Linked DNA regions of Homo sapiens: regions 2, 3 and 4 are each linked to region 1. The links are contacts of gene promoters, found by promoter capture Hi-C in blood cells and fetal thymus (Javierre and others, 2016). All regions are on one chromosome and are shown on one strand. The core of a region is centred on a gene start or on the middle of the fragment in contact, and the rest is flanking DNA. Distances in the headings are between cores, read along the strand shown. Region 1 holds the start of TRPC7-AS1 (TRPC7 antisense RNA 1). Region 2 overlaps SLC25A48 (solute carrier family 25 member 48). Region 3 has its middle 7.0 kb from the start of IL9. Region 4 has its middle 27 kb from the start of IL9.

Region 1 (3,767 bases), core at 531-3,030:
TTGGGAGCAGAGGGCTCTTCTGGAAGCTTCTGGAAGATGAATGGCATCTTCGCACACCTGCTCCGAACAGGCATTGTTTGGGACTCAGCGCCCTCTGGTGGCTGCTCTCCCCACTCACACTTAGCCTCTTCCTTGGTTGGGGGGACACTTTGAGGCCTCATTCCTGCCCCTCCCCTTCCTTTCACATGGAGGAAAGTTCTAGAATGGGGTGGGAGAAAACTTTCCACTTGTTCTGCATTTCCTTTACCTCCTTCCTGACCTTAGGTCTGGGCACAGGAGGAGGGGCTTGGAGGTGGAGGCTGGAGCTTCTGGGGGTCCTGGCTGCATGACTCTAAGGAGGGTGGTGCCTTCGTCCCCACCCAACCCCCACCGCATCGGCCCATTCTCCTCCCGAAGCATCCCTGGGCCACAGGTTCCCAAGGCCACCTCCAGACTGGGCCCGCGAGTGGGGCGGCCCTGGTAGCGTATCCACAGAAGTTATTATGAGGTAATTTTATTTCTTTCCATTTTAGGTAAAAATAGTAAATACAAGATAATCTTAATAAAGGTAAAAATACATCATTTGGATTTTGTTGTTGTTTTCTAAACAGTGCTACCTACAGTACAGTTTTCAATTTAGGATTTTTAAACTTTTTTTTTATATAAACAAATAGAACTATTTTGCTATTAGGCTGTGTTCTCATCTGGCACTTAAGAATAGATCACAGGTCACCTCCTGGTTCTGTTTGGATGTGTTGGGGGTGGCAGGGAGGGAGTGAGAAGGAGTTTGTGGGTTGAGGTGTTTGTCTTCCCAGGACACAGCCAGAGCTGCAGTCCCACCTGCAGTGGGAGGGCACAGGTGTGCACCCAAGATGGCCTTTTCCTGCTCTGGCCACAGGGATGGGTTTCACTGTGGCTGGACCAAAGGTCTCACACTCGTCAGGGGGCTGTTCCTCCCCTCCTCCCATGGTAGCTTTTCTTACCCAACCACCTAGATTCACAGCAGTTCTGGGTCTAGGCAGGCCAGCGGGCTGGAGATGTCAGTCATGCTGCAAGAGACTGAGCCAGGAGATCCCCTTCGTGTCCTAGAGGAGTGGGCTGGGGACCCCTCCCCACCAAGGATGGGGGCGAGGGCATCCAACCTGGCCTTGGAATGCTGGTAGAAGTCACAGACGCCGATGTGGGCTGCTAAATGTCTTTGCCCTTGTTCACCCTCAGGTGGTCTTTGTTTAAGTTCTTTCCAAACTTCTCGCTGAGTTGTTGAATCAGGTCTGCCAGCTCACCAGTAGCTTGAGATTTTTCCTCAAGAAGCTCATAGCGCAGGCTGGAGATATCTTGCTTGATTTCCTTCAGCTCGCCTGCAAGGACAGAGGAGATTTTGCTGAGTCTGAGTAGGTGGAAGCTCGGGGCTTGTCCCATGCACATGTGGGCATGTGCATCCTTCCAGTGGAATGTCGGGTCCTGGGCCAGCCCACCAGGGTTGAAGGTGAGGCAAGGGGGGCTCTATTTGAACCCAGAACCACCCAGCTCCCCCACCACTGAAGGACACATCGATCCATAGAAAGCCCTTCTCCTCCCATTCCAGGAAAACCTTTCCCTTAGGGGTTTGAAGGAGGAGTCAAGATCAGGGCTGTGAATTGTGTCTAGCACTTGTTTCATAAAATACTTGTTAGAAAGTTTGTTTCAGAGTCACTAAAGGCAGATTTCAAGACTCTGGAAAACAACCCCATTAACCAGAGCATTGCTTTTGATGATGCTATGTTTTGTTCTGTCATTGTTATTTGTAGGGAGGAGAAACTCCCAGGAGCCTGGAGAGAATGGCTCGGCACAGCAGATGCAGCCGTGGTGGCCATGGAGCTGACCAGCCTCTTGGGAGTGAGCTGGCCACCTGAGCACGGTCCACTCAGCCCACACAAGCAGCAGCACCACCTCGCTGACAGGAGCTTCGTCAATGCCTGCCGCCTCCTCCTTCCATAACGAGGGACCACCTAGCAGGGACTTTCACTTTTATTTCCACAGAGAACCTTGTGGTTAGAAGTCCAATGGGTCTAGGCTGTGGGAATCTTCTTATTAACCACAAACAGATGTCAAAAGGATCTTTCCTAATACTGTAGATACTGCACTTGGCTCGTGTGGGAGTCCACTGTCTGTGGAAACATTACTCGTCTATTTTTCAGGTATGGTCTATACACATAAAAGGCAGAGATCTTAAAGGTACAGTTTGATCCATTTTGACAAATGGATACACCCCCTGTTTTTATCAGATGCTTCACTGAGCCCCCGTTTCATGGTGTAATTTAAGTGCCATGACACCTGGATACCCCCACCTTCTATGATCAGTGATATTCACATGAATCAGTTACATACTGCTTGAGGCTGGCTGGCCTGACACTTGGCCATTGTTTGAGACCTACAAGTAGGTAGGTGGGCTGTTGTCTGCCCCTAAACCATGTCAGCTCAGGGGCAGTTCAGTTATGGCTGAGCTTCGAGCTGCATGCTGGGTGCCCCAGGATGAAGCAGAGGGTCACCCAATGACCAGGCTCTTTCTGTAGTTCCCTGTGGCCCAAGCTAGGAGAACAGAAACTTCAATCATGGATGAGGCTGTTTCTAGGTGGCAAATATTTGTCATAAGTATCTCATTAATTACCTGGCATAAAGTAATTTGCTTTTCATCTAAGAGTAACTGCTTAAAATAGACTGGAAAACAACCCAAACAGTGAAAATAATATAGTTGGTAAACTTCAGTGTATATCAGAGACCCTTGGTGCAGTTTTCCAAAAGCAGATCCCCAGACCCCACTCCAGAGATGCTGATTCATTAGGTCTGGGTGGGGTCTGGGATCTGTAGTTTTAACAGCTAGTTCTGAGGTGGGGAACACTTTGAGAAACACGGCTGTCAGTTAGATGCTGAGAACCTCCCACTGAGACTGGACAGGGCCAGTTAGAAGCAAGCGGCGGCAGACCCTAAACGCAGTGTGCATCTGCTCAGTGGATGTGCACCATGGAATGAAGTACAGCATTGGAATTCTGAACCATCCTGCACTCAAGAGGCATGAGGTTGGCTCAAGGCTGCCATTGCTGTGGGAGGCAGAGGAATGTCCCCTACTCCCAAGATGTCCCCGTCCTGATCCCTGATGTTCTGCCTGTGGGAAACATGACTGTTTCTCCTCAAAGGGGAACTGAGGTGGCAAATAGAATTCAGGTTGCTGATCAGCTGCCCTTAACAGAAGGAGATTATTCTGGATTGTCCTGGTGGAACCAATTCAATCACATGAGTCCTTAAAAGTGGAGGAGGGGCCGGGCGCAGTGGCTCATGCCTGTAATCCCAACACTTTGGGAGGCTGAGATGGGCGGATCACAAGGTCAGGAGTTCGAGACCAGCCTGACCAACATGGTAAAACCCCATCTCTACTAAAAAAATACAAAAATTAGCTGGGCGTGGTGGCACACACCTGTGATCCCAGCTACTCAGGAGGCTGAGGCAGGAGAATCACTTGAACCCAGGAGGCAGAGGTTGCAGTGGGCCGAGATTGTGCCGTTGCACTCCAGCCTGGGCAACAGAGTGAGACTCCATCTCAAAAAAAAAAAAAAAAATGGTGGAGGAGGAAGGCAGAAGAGTGGGGTCAGAGATGGGACAATGGAAGATGAGGCAGGGCAAATGGAGTGTGAGGGTGCCTGATGCCTGCTGCCAGCTCTGAGGTGGTGGGGCTGTATGCACAGACCAAGTGCTGGAGCTCAGGGCAGCCCAGCTGTGGCCAGCAAGGCAACAGGGACAGGCCTGCAGCCCCG
Region 2 (3,767 bases), core at 817-3,316, 370 kb before region 1:
TCCCCTCTGAGTCTCTGTGTGTCAGATCTGCCCATCCTTCCTAAGGACACTAGCCATTGGATTTAGCACAATTTACAGGAGTGGAGCTCCCTGGCCACAGTTGCCTGAAAAGGCTGGGCTTTCTCCCTTCTCTGCACTCTGCCCTGAAGCTCTGGAGGGAAGCCCTCCTGAAACATGACATCCAGTCTTTGTTCAGCCTGAGTGCCCCTGTTGCACTCCAGCACACCTTCTTTCCTTCCTTCTGGCTGATGTTTTCTCAACAGACCCTGTCCACCAAGAAAGGGCCAGGCAAGTCTGAATAACTGGAAATCCAGTCCTGGCCTTATCACCTACTCTCCAGTGACCTGGGCACAGCACTTAACCTTCCTGAGCCTTGAATTCCTTGTCTGTAAAGTGGGCAAGTAGCACCTCCCTGGTGGGGCTGTCATGAAGCTTGTTCATGGAGGTACTGAGGATACAGCAATGAGCGAGATGATGCTACTATCAAGAATAGACAGGCTGGAGTGCAGGGAGGCAGACAGTCACTTGTCTAGGGTCCGGGGACTCACCTGTGGAAGAACCCGGCTACAAGGGCCTGTGCTGCTGACCCAGGTGAAAGGCTTATTCCTGTGCCCTTGGCTGCGTGGTCTTAGGTTGAGGAGGCCTGGCTGGTGCCTATGTCTGATGCAGCGTGGCTAGGTTTTCTAGTCAGGGCTTGGCTGCCTCTAGACCAGGGGTCCCCAACTCCTATACCGTACCAGTACCAGCCTGTGGCCTGTTAGGAACGGGGCTGCACAGCAGGAGGTGAGCAGTGGGTAAGTGAGCATTACTGCCTGAGCTCTGCTTCCTCTCAGATCAGTGGCAGCATTAGATTCTCGTAAGAGCACAAACCCTATTATGAACTGCGCATGCGAGGGATCTAGGTTGCCCGCTCTTTATGAGAATCTGATGCCTGATTATCTGATGGTTTCACCTCAAAACCATCACCCCACCCTGGTCTTTGGAAAAATTGTCTTCCACAAAACTGGTTCCTGGCGCCAAAAATGTTGGGGATCACTCTTGTAGACCACTGGGACTGGACTGCAATGGACAGGCTTTGGGAGGGGGTGTCTGCCTCCTTCTCATGAACATCCCAGTGGGGGTTCTTGTTTTGCTTCAACATGCTCCCCACAATTCTAGGCTGCCCCCTCACTACCCAGTCCAATCTGGGGCATGCATCTTGGCCCAGGACAGCCAGGGCATGGCTTGCTCTGCCAGGTCAGGGGCAGGCCAGGCAGTGGCTCAGCTCTGAGCTCTGAGGCTTCAGCCACCTCACCTCTGACACTGAGCACTCATCCTCTTCTCCTTGGGTTTTCAGCTCTGGGATGCTGAGAGGTTCCAATGGGAGAGAAACCATGAACTGGAGTAGCATGAGATTCACAGCACCCCTGACATGAAGCTCATAGTTTTGGGCTAAATATTGCATGAAGGGCCATGATCTTCAAGATGTATCCACTGCATTCACACAATCCAGGGCTCCCATTCTCTATAAGGACCAAAGAAAGTGTCAGAGACCTGAGAAAATAGTATAGTATATAAGAAGAAAAGTACAGAATCAAAATTAATGCTGCACTAAATATTTACAAAATATAACCTCATGTTAAATAGTCAAATGCAACTCAGCTTTCATGGAGGTCTATGTGGATGATATTAATATGGGATGTACATTAAATATATACAATTATGCTTAATTTTATCTTACTTGATACAATATGAGCAGGTTTGCAAAAGCGAAAGAGTCCAAAATCTAAGCAAGTCTTAAAATGGCCTTGATTCTACATAACCAGGAGAGACGAGAAAGATAATGGCAAGACCATCAATTCTGTAGGCCCAAAATGAGTGCTCTGGACACCTCAGATTTGGAGATATTTTCCATAATAACTAAAAGCACTGAAGCTGGGCTAGGGAACCAAGCTCTCTTCTCTCTTGCCTTTCATAGGTGTTCACTGAGTATCTATTATATACCTAACACTATGTATAGGTCAGAACCCAACACTGAGGGCAGCCACACCTGGTCAAGAGCTTGGACTAGACTTGTTTTGGTCTCAGTAGGCTAGAGATTGGTGGGAGTAGCAGCCTCTGGGGTCCTGTGGAGTGAAAGGCCTTGGGGATGAACAAAACGAGGGGGCCAGGTTCCTGGGGAAACCATGTGAGGCAGTGTGGTTGACTGAATAATGGTCCCCAGATGTGCCTGTGTCCTCATCTGTGGAACCTGTGAATGTCATCTTATATGGCAAAAGAAAACTTTGCAGGTATGATTATGTTAAGGATCTTGAGATGGGAGGATGATCCTGGATTATCAGGGAGGTTCTTAAATGTAATTACAAGTGTCCTTATAAGAGGGAGGTGGAGAGAGATTTAGATTTCTTCCCACAGAAGAGGAAGAAAACAATGTGACAACAGAAGCAGGGAGAGAAGAGGAGCCATGATGCTGGGGCTCCGGGAAAGAGGGTGAACCCCAAAAGCTGGGGGAGACAAGAAAACACATTCTCCTCAAGAGCCTCCCGAGGGAGTGCTGCCTTGCCAGCATTCTGATCTTACCCCACTGAGACTCATTTCAGATTTCTGGTCTTAGAACTGTGAGATAATGCATTCATGCTGTTTTAAGCCATGAAGTTTGGGGTAATTTGTTACAGCAGCAATAGGAAACTAATATAAGTAGTCAGTTGTGTTCATCTGTAAGATGGGACCAGTATCCGTGCCTTAGAGCATCTGTGGGATTTAGTGAGGTCAATTTTATATGATGGTCAGTATGCAGTTGGTGCATAATAAATGCCTTCTCCTGCTATCACTGGGGGCCCTAGAGACTTGGGCTTTGCTGCTGGCCTCAGTGCCAGCCTACCCGAGTGCTCAGCATGCCTGACAGACCTTTGCTCCATGGCTTTGAAATTATTCTGTGATCCAGGTTTGGCTCTCAGGTTGAGTCACTTCATGTATTATTGGCTTGAGTGACTCAACCACTCAATTTTCTTAGCAGGAATTGATTACTTGTTGCAGGGGGTGGGTGGCAGTCAGCCATTTGTGGATTCACTTTCCAGGGACAGCCCTGGGAGAGTGTTGGACCTCATGACAGCCTTACATGGGGCACAGAGAGAGACCTGCACCCCTCCACCACCTGGCCCAAGTCATTGTCCTGGTTGTGGACATCCCACTCCGAGGTAGGCCTCTGTGGTTCTGCTTAACAAGAAGACCTTGAAGGCCCAGTTCTCATCTTGCTGCATTTTCCAGGGAGTCTCCCCCACTGAATTTAAAATTACCTTTTCCTTCTTATCACCCAGCTCTTCTTATCCTTGGTTTATTTTCCTCTGTAGTACTTGTCTTCATCTAAAATATATATTTACTTGGGAATTATTTTTTATTGACCATCTTTCCTGACTCCACTAGGTTGTAAGTTCCATGAAGGCAGACTCTGGTTTCTTTACTGCTGAATTCCCTGAGACTGGAATAGTGCCTCCAATAAAATAGGCCCCGAACAAATATTGGTTGAGTGAGTCAATAAACACACTTCTCTGATTATGAAAGTAATAATTATGAACAGGGTGATACTATTTCCTATATTTTTCCTATGGCTACATATGTTTATAAAACTATTCAAATGGATGCTTCTCAAACTCTTGGCCACGTTATTAGCCATGGTCATAAACTCAGGAGAGGAGTAGGGTGAGAGCGAAGGTGGGTCCAATGAAGCTTTAGCCTTACATGTGACATTAATTTGTTGTTGTTGTTTTTGAGAGAATTTATTTCCATAC
Region 3 (3,767 bases), core at 532-3,031, 310 kb before region 1:
ATAAAACAAAATGGTTATGTGTTCTAGGAAGGCACAGCATAAAATGACCAAAAAAAAAAAAAAAAGGCACTGCATTTCCAAGTAAAACCTGTTCTGCCTTTTACTCCAAGCAGCCAAGAGGTAACTAGTTATGAGAATCCTCAAGTGCTAATTTCCTAATCAAGTAGTTATTTCTAGATCACTACTTTCTAAGTAAGCATGATGGGGTAAGCCCCACTGGTGATGCTGTCCTTCGGTTGGGTCTTCTCTCCGTGGAAGGGGAACCCAGGACCCCTTCCCTCACATCCTGCCTGAGCAAACCCTGTGTCTGCTGCCCTTGGAAGCTACTGTTCCCTGTGTGGCCCCACACAGTTTTCTCTGAGCTCCAAGACCTAGGATCTATTTCTTTCCTCCTTCCTCTCACTTCTCTTTCCTCACTGTTGTTGGTTAATAACAATCTGGGCTATCCTTGTAAATGGAATTTCACATCCTCCCATTGGCATAGTCCACCATTACTTGAGACATGCCCCTGTATTTCTCAGAGACTATGGGACTCCCCCAACTCCCCACCCTTTGCTGTGGCCAATTCATTGATGTCCATCTAATTAAGGGAGGATGAGAACTGTTGTTCTGGATTACACTGGAGCCTTAAGGCATTAGAATTTGTTAAATCTTCCTGTGCACAAGATAACTTATTAAGCACTTTATATATATCATCTCACTCAGCCCCCTCAACAATCTTTATTAACCCTATTTGTAGATATCCAAATGGAAGCTCAGAGAAGCTAGGAGAGTTGCCATAGACACACAGCTGGCAACTTGAATGAGATTTACCAGACCCCAGAGCCTGTGTTCTTATCTGCAAGGCCATAAATCAATCTCCACTTCTGTTGACCGATACTCTATAGGCTGTACTCCAAGTCTACTTAATACAAGCAGAAAATCAAAGTATGCCTTTGGGGAAGAGGGAGGTGGATTCTAGGCCTCAGCTATATCTGTGTCCTGGGGCTGCCATCACAAAGTATACAAACTGGGAGACTTAAAGCCACGGAAATTTATTCTCGCACAATCTTGGAACCAGAAGTGCAAATCAAGGTGTTGACAGGGTTGGAAGCAGCCTGACTACTGCAGAAGTGGCTGTTGGGAAGAAGTGGAAGATGAGGCTAGAAGTTCTGAACGGAAGGACAGAGCCCTGTGTCATCAAGATTGCATTGACCACAAATCACAAAACCCCAGTTAACACTGACTGGAGTGATAAGGAAATTTGCCATCTCACAAAACACTGCATCTGTGGATACGGTGGGTCCTGGGGTGGTCGGATCTGCAGCTCTGAGATCTTGTGGACAGGCTGCTTTGCCACTCTGTGGGTTGACTTCCCTCCCCTTGGGGCTATAAGATGACTGCCCAGTTCCAGGGCTCACGTCCACTCATGACAATATAAATCCTACATTTGGAATGAATGGTCAAGTATTTGCAACCCTTTCACTCTCAATACGTTTTGCCAAACTGTCCTCCAGAAATATGTTCTAACATATAATAATAGAATTTATAATTTATAATAATCCCATTAGTCACGTTTAAGAATGTCCACTTCTGACATCCTTATCAACACTGGACAGTGATTTTTTATTAACCTTGGCCGTGTGTCTGGCAAATTTATGATGCTAATACATATGTATTGAATTCATAAATTAATGAATTCTTGCTTTTTTATATTTCTTCACTTGTGAGTTACCTGTTAGTGCCCAGATTTCTGTTGGTATATTAATCTTTTGCTTACTGATTACTAAGAGTTCTTTGTGTATCTTTGTTTTTCAAATATATTACATTTATTTTCTTCTGTTTATTGTTATGCTTGTAGTGTTTTCTGACTGTGTTTTCATGTGGTCAAACATATAACATATTTATCTCTATTTTTCCAGTCTGTGAATGATTTTATTTTCAGCAATTAAATCTTTAATCTTTTTAGAGTTTATTTGAGGGTATAGAAGAAATCTAATTTATTTTTCTTCCATGTTTGGTTGATACTATTACTAACTAAATATCTCTTTTACCTACTGATTTGAAATACTACCTTATTGAACACTAAATTTTAATTTTTCTTAAGTATCTTTCTGGACTCTAATTTAGTCCAATGAGCTATCTTACAGCTCTAGATTGACCTTAGAATGCAATTGTGGTAATAAAATGATTGTCGACATTTCCTTCATATTATTGGGAATGCTTTCAATGCTTTTCATTTAAATATCATGTTTGCTTGCATGACCTCACTTATAAGTGGGAGCTAAACAATGGGTACACATGGACATAAAGATGGAAACACTAGACGCCAAAGACTCCAAATAGGGGAGGGGAGGAGGGGGCAAGGGTTGAAAAATTACCTATTAGGTACAATGGTCACTATTTGGATGATGGGTACATCAGAAGCCCAGACCTCACCATTACACAATATATTCATATAACACAGCTGCACATGTACCTCCTGAATCTAAAATAATCATCTATCAATCAATATCATGTTTGCTGTTGATTTCCTAATAGGGAACAGTTTCGAATATTTAGTTCTCCAAATTTTTATTAGAAATGATAGCTGAATTTTACAAACGCCTTTCAAGTTTTTATCAGGATCATGAGTTTTCTTTCCACTAACTCATATGATACATTATTTTAACTGATTACTAAATGTTGAGCCATCCTCACATTCCTGGAATAAGTTCTATTTGGTCATACTATATTATGGTTTTAATACGCTGATGGAATCAATTTGTTCTTCCTTTATTTTGAACAGAGGATGAAACACAGGTTCCCAGGGTGGCAGCATTAGGTGCTGCTCTTCAGTAGGAATGGCCCTCAAGGTCGTCCAGGCACCATTCTCTTTAGTGCTCCAGGTGATGACTCAGGTGTGGAGAAGCACGACTTCCATTGGGAGGCCCAAGATATGTCCTGGCCTAAGGCTTTGTGCCCCACAGGAGTCAATATCTGGTGAAAGAGATCACAGACAGCTTCCAAGGCCCCTGCACTCAGGAGAGCCCAAGGCTGTGACACTCCACTAAAAATGGATAGTTCATTTATAGTCATCCCAGCCCAGACACTTTGCCACCCAGGCCTACTTGATATTTCATCTTCATCTGGTGTGTAGGGGAACAGAGCTAAATAATGAATGGAAAAGCCAGGTTCTCTTTCAGAAGGGAAGAGGCTGCATTAACAACTTTACTTAGATAGTGTCCATCCCTAAGGGAGTTCATTCTTCATATTCTTTTTATGTGCCTTCTTTTTGGGGCACATAAAAAGTGAGTTAGGAAGAGTTTAAATAGTAAGAGAATTTTCAATATTTCCTCACTCCTCCATAGCAAGGATTTTTCTTCTTTTATTTCCACAAAGCCAGTGACAAGACAGTTCCCAACACATAGTAATTAGAATTTTTTTGTTTGGCAGTGTCTTGCTCTGTCACCTAGGCTGAAGTGCAGTGGCATGATCTTGGCTCACTGCAGCCTTGACTTCCAGGGCTCAGGTGATTCTCCCGCCTCAGCCTCCTGAGTAGCTGGGACCACAGGCACGCACCACCACAACAAGCTAATTTTTTAAAAATTTTGTATAGAGATGGGGTCTCCCTCACATAGCTATTGCTATGTTGCTCAGGTTGGTCTCCAACCTCTGGCCTCAAGTGATCCTACAGCCTCAGCCTCCCAAAGTGCTGGGATTACAGGCATGAGTTACCACACCTGGCCATAATTAGAATATTTGCTGAATCAATTATGTTCTGACAGAACTCATTTGTAAAATCTGGG
Region 4 (3,767 bases), core at 620-3,119, 290 kb before region 1:
TTGTTTATAAAGAGTTGCCTTATTTCTGTTGGCACTTGATTGGTGGGATTGCTGGCAGTATACCACTATCCTATGGCATTTTAAATATTATATCTGTTAACTATTGTAGCTCTTTTCTATTTCCTCTGGGAAGTACTCTATTTTATGATTTTAGGGTAATTGGTAATACAGAGTATTCCTTCAATTAACTATAATCTTTTTTAAAAAATCACTTCAGAGCATTTTCTTTCTAGAACCAGTAAATCAAATTAATCAAAACCACTTAATTTTAAGTTCTTAATTTTTAATCTTAAAATATGTCAGTTTTCATAGGTTGTAAATTAACATGGGAGGACATGCCATAAACAAACAAATCAAAATTTAGTAGCTTGAAACAGTTCCCTGTTCTTTATAAGAAATATCTTTGTGTTAACATTTTCCTTTTGCTAAAAACACTATGAAATTTTTTTTTGGTAATGACTCCTTTTTGAAATGCACTTTAAAATGACGGATCACCAGGACATCTATAAAACATGACGTACTAACCTACTTTTATTAGGTGATTTTGAAGGACTAACCCTGTTTCTCTTGATCCCAGACTTATGCTGACAATCAAAGTAATAATACAGAGTTTTGTCTTTCATAAATAAAATGACTACAGAAAATTATCTCGAGATTAACAAAGTATTCCTATGAAATTTTCAGTTAAACATGGCAATAAAATCACTTGCTTCTTTTTAAACAAAATATATTTGTAGAATTATTTTCCTTGAATTTCAGCTTTTGAAACCAAGTAATCTGCAACGTTGGAAAACATGATTCAGTGTTACATTTTATTTTAAATATGTTGCAATGTGAAAGCTTTACTAGAAGAGCAATAGTAAAAAGCAATAGGTTAAAAATTATTTTTATTCCTTATTTTAAAAAGTGATAACTTCAGATCCATGAAGCTGTGCAAAAAAAGTCCACCATAAACCAGAAGAACATGTTGTTAATGAAATCTTGAGCTCCATACAATGCCCTTGACTTTATTCACTTTTCAACACAGAGTAATGGCTTTGAATCAATGTTGTCAGTGATGACTAAGCCTGACCCATTTAGAAATGCTTATTTCATAATTCCCCATTTACGAGGGCTTCATACTGTGGATAGAATGCAAAGAACAGCAAGCTCTTCTACATTTAGAGACACACTAGCTGGGACTTGTGATTTTAAAATGAATAGCCTTAATCTTGAAGTAAAGTTAAATAGCTCCTTTACTAATTTCCTTTAGGGAAAACTTAATCTAAAGAAATATGAAGTAAAAACTGTATCTCAAAAATGTTGAGAGATTTTTGCACAGGCAAGAAATCTTGACTGATGTAGATAATAGGCTATTTATATTTTAAATAGTAAAAAACAAATTCTTAAAGGAAAAATATGATCAATCTTCAGGACATAATTAATCCATTGCAGGTTTAAATGAAATGAATTAGAACAGAGGGAAATCTTACAGTGTCTTTTTATGCTGGCAAGGTGTTTTGCAGTGTCCAAGGGAAAACATGTGCAAAATGTACCTGAACTTTTCTCTCGGAAGTGGGCAGTTTACATATTAAGCCACATACAGACATGATTCAGAGATATTGTGGGTTCAGTTCCAGACCACTGCAATAAAGCAAATACCTCATTGAAGCAATTTGTATGAATTTTTGGTTTCTCAGTGCATATACAAGTTATATTTACACTATACTGTAGTCTAGGTGTGCAGGAGCATTATGTTTAAAATCTTTACGTACCTTAATTTAAAAATGCTTGACTGAAAAAAAAATGCTAACCATCATCTGAACCTTCAGTGAGTCATCATCTTCTTGCTGGTGGAGGATCTCGTCTTGATGTTGACGGCCGCTGACTGATCAGGGTAGTAGTTGTTGAAGATTGGGGTGTCTGTGGTAATTTCTTAAAATAAGACAACAGTGAAGTTTGCACACGGATTGACTCTTCCTTTCACAAGAGATTTCTCTGTAGCATTTAATGTTGTTTGGTAGCATTTTACCCACATTAGAACTTCTTTCAAAATTGGAATAAATACTCTCAAACCCTGCTGCTGCTTTATCAACTAAGTTTATGGAATATGCTAAATCCTTTGTTGTCATTTCAACAATGTTCACAGCATCTTCACCACAAATAGACTCCATCTCAAGAAACCACTTTCTTTGCCCACCCATGACAGGCAACTCCTCATCTGTTCAATTCTTGTGAGACTGCAACAATTCAGTCACATCTTCAGGCTCCACTTCTTACTCTAGTTCCCTTGCAGTTTCCACCTCACCTGCACTTCCTTCCTCCATGATGTCTTAAACCCCTCAAAGTCATCCATTTAGGCTGGAATCAACTTATTCCAAACTCCTGTTAATATTGATACTTTGGCCTCCTCCCATGAAGCCCAAATGTTCCTAATAGCATCTAGAATGGTGAATCCTTTCCAGTAGGTTTTCAATTTGCTTTGCCCAGATATATCAGAGGAATAACTATCTATGGCAGCAATAGCCTTACAAAATATATTTCTTAAATAGTAGGACTTGGAAATCAATCCTTGATGCATGGGCTGCAGAATGGATATTGTGTTAGCCGGCCTGAAAACACTAATTTCCTTGTACATCTCTATCAGAGCTCTTGGGTGAGCACTGTCCATGAACAGTAATATTTTGAAAGGAATCTCTTTTTCTGAGAAGTAGATCTCAATAGTGGGCTTAAAATAGTAAAATATGCTGTAAACAGATGGCTTTGTCATATTTCTAGAACAGAGAAGGAGCAGATTAAGCATAATTCTTAATGGAATTAGGATTTCTAGAATAGTAAATGAACATTAAAGTAAAGCCAATGCTTTAATTTAAAGTCACCACCCACATTATTCCTAACAAAAGAGGCCAGCTGTTCTTTGAAGCTTTGGTACAAGGCATTGATTTCTCCTCTTTAGTTATGAAAGTCCTAGATGGCATCTCCTTCCAATAGAAGACTGTTTAATCTACATTGAAAATCTGTTTTGAATGTAGCTGCCTTTATCAATGATCTTGGCTAGATCTTCTGGATAACTTGCTGCAGCTTCTCCATCAGCACCTGCTGCTTCACCTTGCACTTTTATGTTATGGAGATGGCTTCTTTCCCTAAATCTGATGAACCAAACTCTGCTAATCTCAAACTTTTCTTCTGCAGCTTCCTCACCTCTCTCAACCTTCATAGAATTAAAGAGGTTAGGGCCTTGCTCTGGATTAAGCTTTGGCTTAAGGGCAGGTTATAGCTGATTTCATTTTCTATCCAGACCATGAAAACTTTCCCCATACCAGCAATAAGGCTGTTTCACTTTCTTGTCATTTGCGTGTTGACTGGAGTAGCACTTTTTAATCTCCTTCAAGGACTTTTCCTTTGCATTCAAAACTTGGCTAATTGTTTAACACAAGAAGCCTAACTTTCAGCGTATGTCCGATTTTGACATGCCTTCATCACCAAGCTTAATCATTTTTAGATTTGAATTTAAAGTGAGAGACAAGGAACTTATCCTTTCACTTGAACACTTAGAGGCCATTCTAGGGTTATTAATTGGCTTAATTTCGATACTGTTGTGTCTCAGGGAATAGAGATGCCCAAGGAGGGGGAGAGAGATGAGGAAACAGCCAGTGATTGGAACTCAGAACACACACATTTATCAAGTTTGCCTTCTAATATGGGTGCAGTTTGTGTCATCCCAAACCAATTACAATGGACACACCAAAGATCCCAAATCACAGATCACCATAACAGATATAATAATA

What was found. Contacts are between HindIII fragments. The CHiCAGO score rates a contact against its expected background, and 5 or more counts as called.
Region 2: a fragment that was not itself captured here is called in contact with the fragment with the promoter of TRPC7-AS1 in region 1 in 2 of 17 cell types (activated CD4 T cells and monocytes); the score reaches 6.7 in activated CD4 T cells.
Region 3: a fragment that was not itself captured here is called in contact with the fragment with the promoter of TRPC7-AS1 in region 1 in 8 of 17 cell types (monocytes, naive CD8 T cells, fetal thymus and 5 more); the score reaches 9.1 in monocytes.
Region 4: a contact is called between a fragment that was not itself captured here and the fragment with the promoter of TRPC7-AS1 in region 1, in 4 of 17 cell types (endothelial precursors, fetal thymus, M1 macrophages and 1 more). The highest score is 5.9, in endothelial precursors.

The regions. Positions count from the first base shown.
Region 1 is chr5:136,212,268-136,216,034 of GRCh38, forward strand. TRPC7-AS1 (TRPC7 antisense RNA 1) reads left to right here and starts at 1,781. Exons shown (of 2, transcript NR_046708.1): 1 at 1,781-2,156. It overlaps TRPC7 (transient receptor potential cation channel subfamily C member 7), which reads right to left. Exons shown (of 12, transcript NM_020389.3): 12 at 478-1,337. The coding sequence ends at 1,168. The HindIII fragment of the contact is 8,916 bases long and covers 25-3,767 here.
Region 2 is chr5:135,845,252-135,849,018 of GRCh38, forward strand. The region is part of intron 2 of SLC25A48 (solute carrier family 25 member 48); the gene reads left to right. Among named protein-coding and RNA genes, the nearest start is that of SLC25A48, 12 kb to the left of the region's middle. The HindIII fragment of the contact is 3,273 bases long and covers 431-3,703 here.
Region 3 is chr5:135,900,978-135,904,744 of GRCh38, forward strand. No RefSeq gene overlaps it. Among named protein-coding and RNA genes, the nearest start is that of IL9, 7.0 kb to the left of the region's middle. The HindIII fragment of the contact is 5,582 bases long and covers 1-3,767 here.
Region 4 is chr5:135,920,521-135,924,287 of GRCh38, forward strand. No RefSeq gene overlaps it. Among named protein-coding and RNA genes, the nearest start is that of IL9, 27 kb to the left of the region's middle. The HindIII fragment of the contact is 2,062 bases long and covers 839-2,900 here.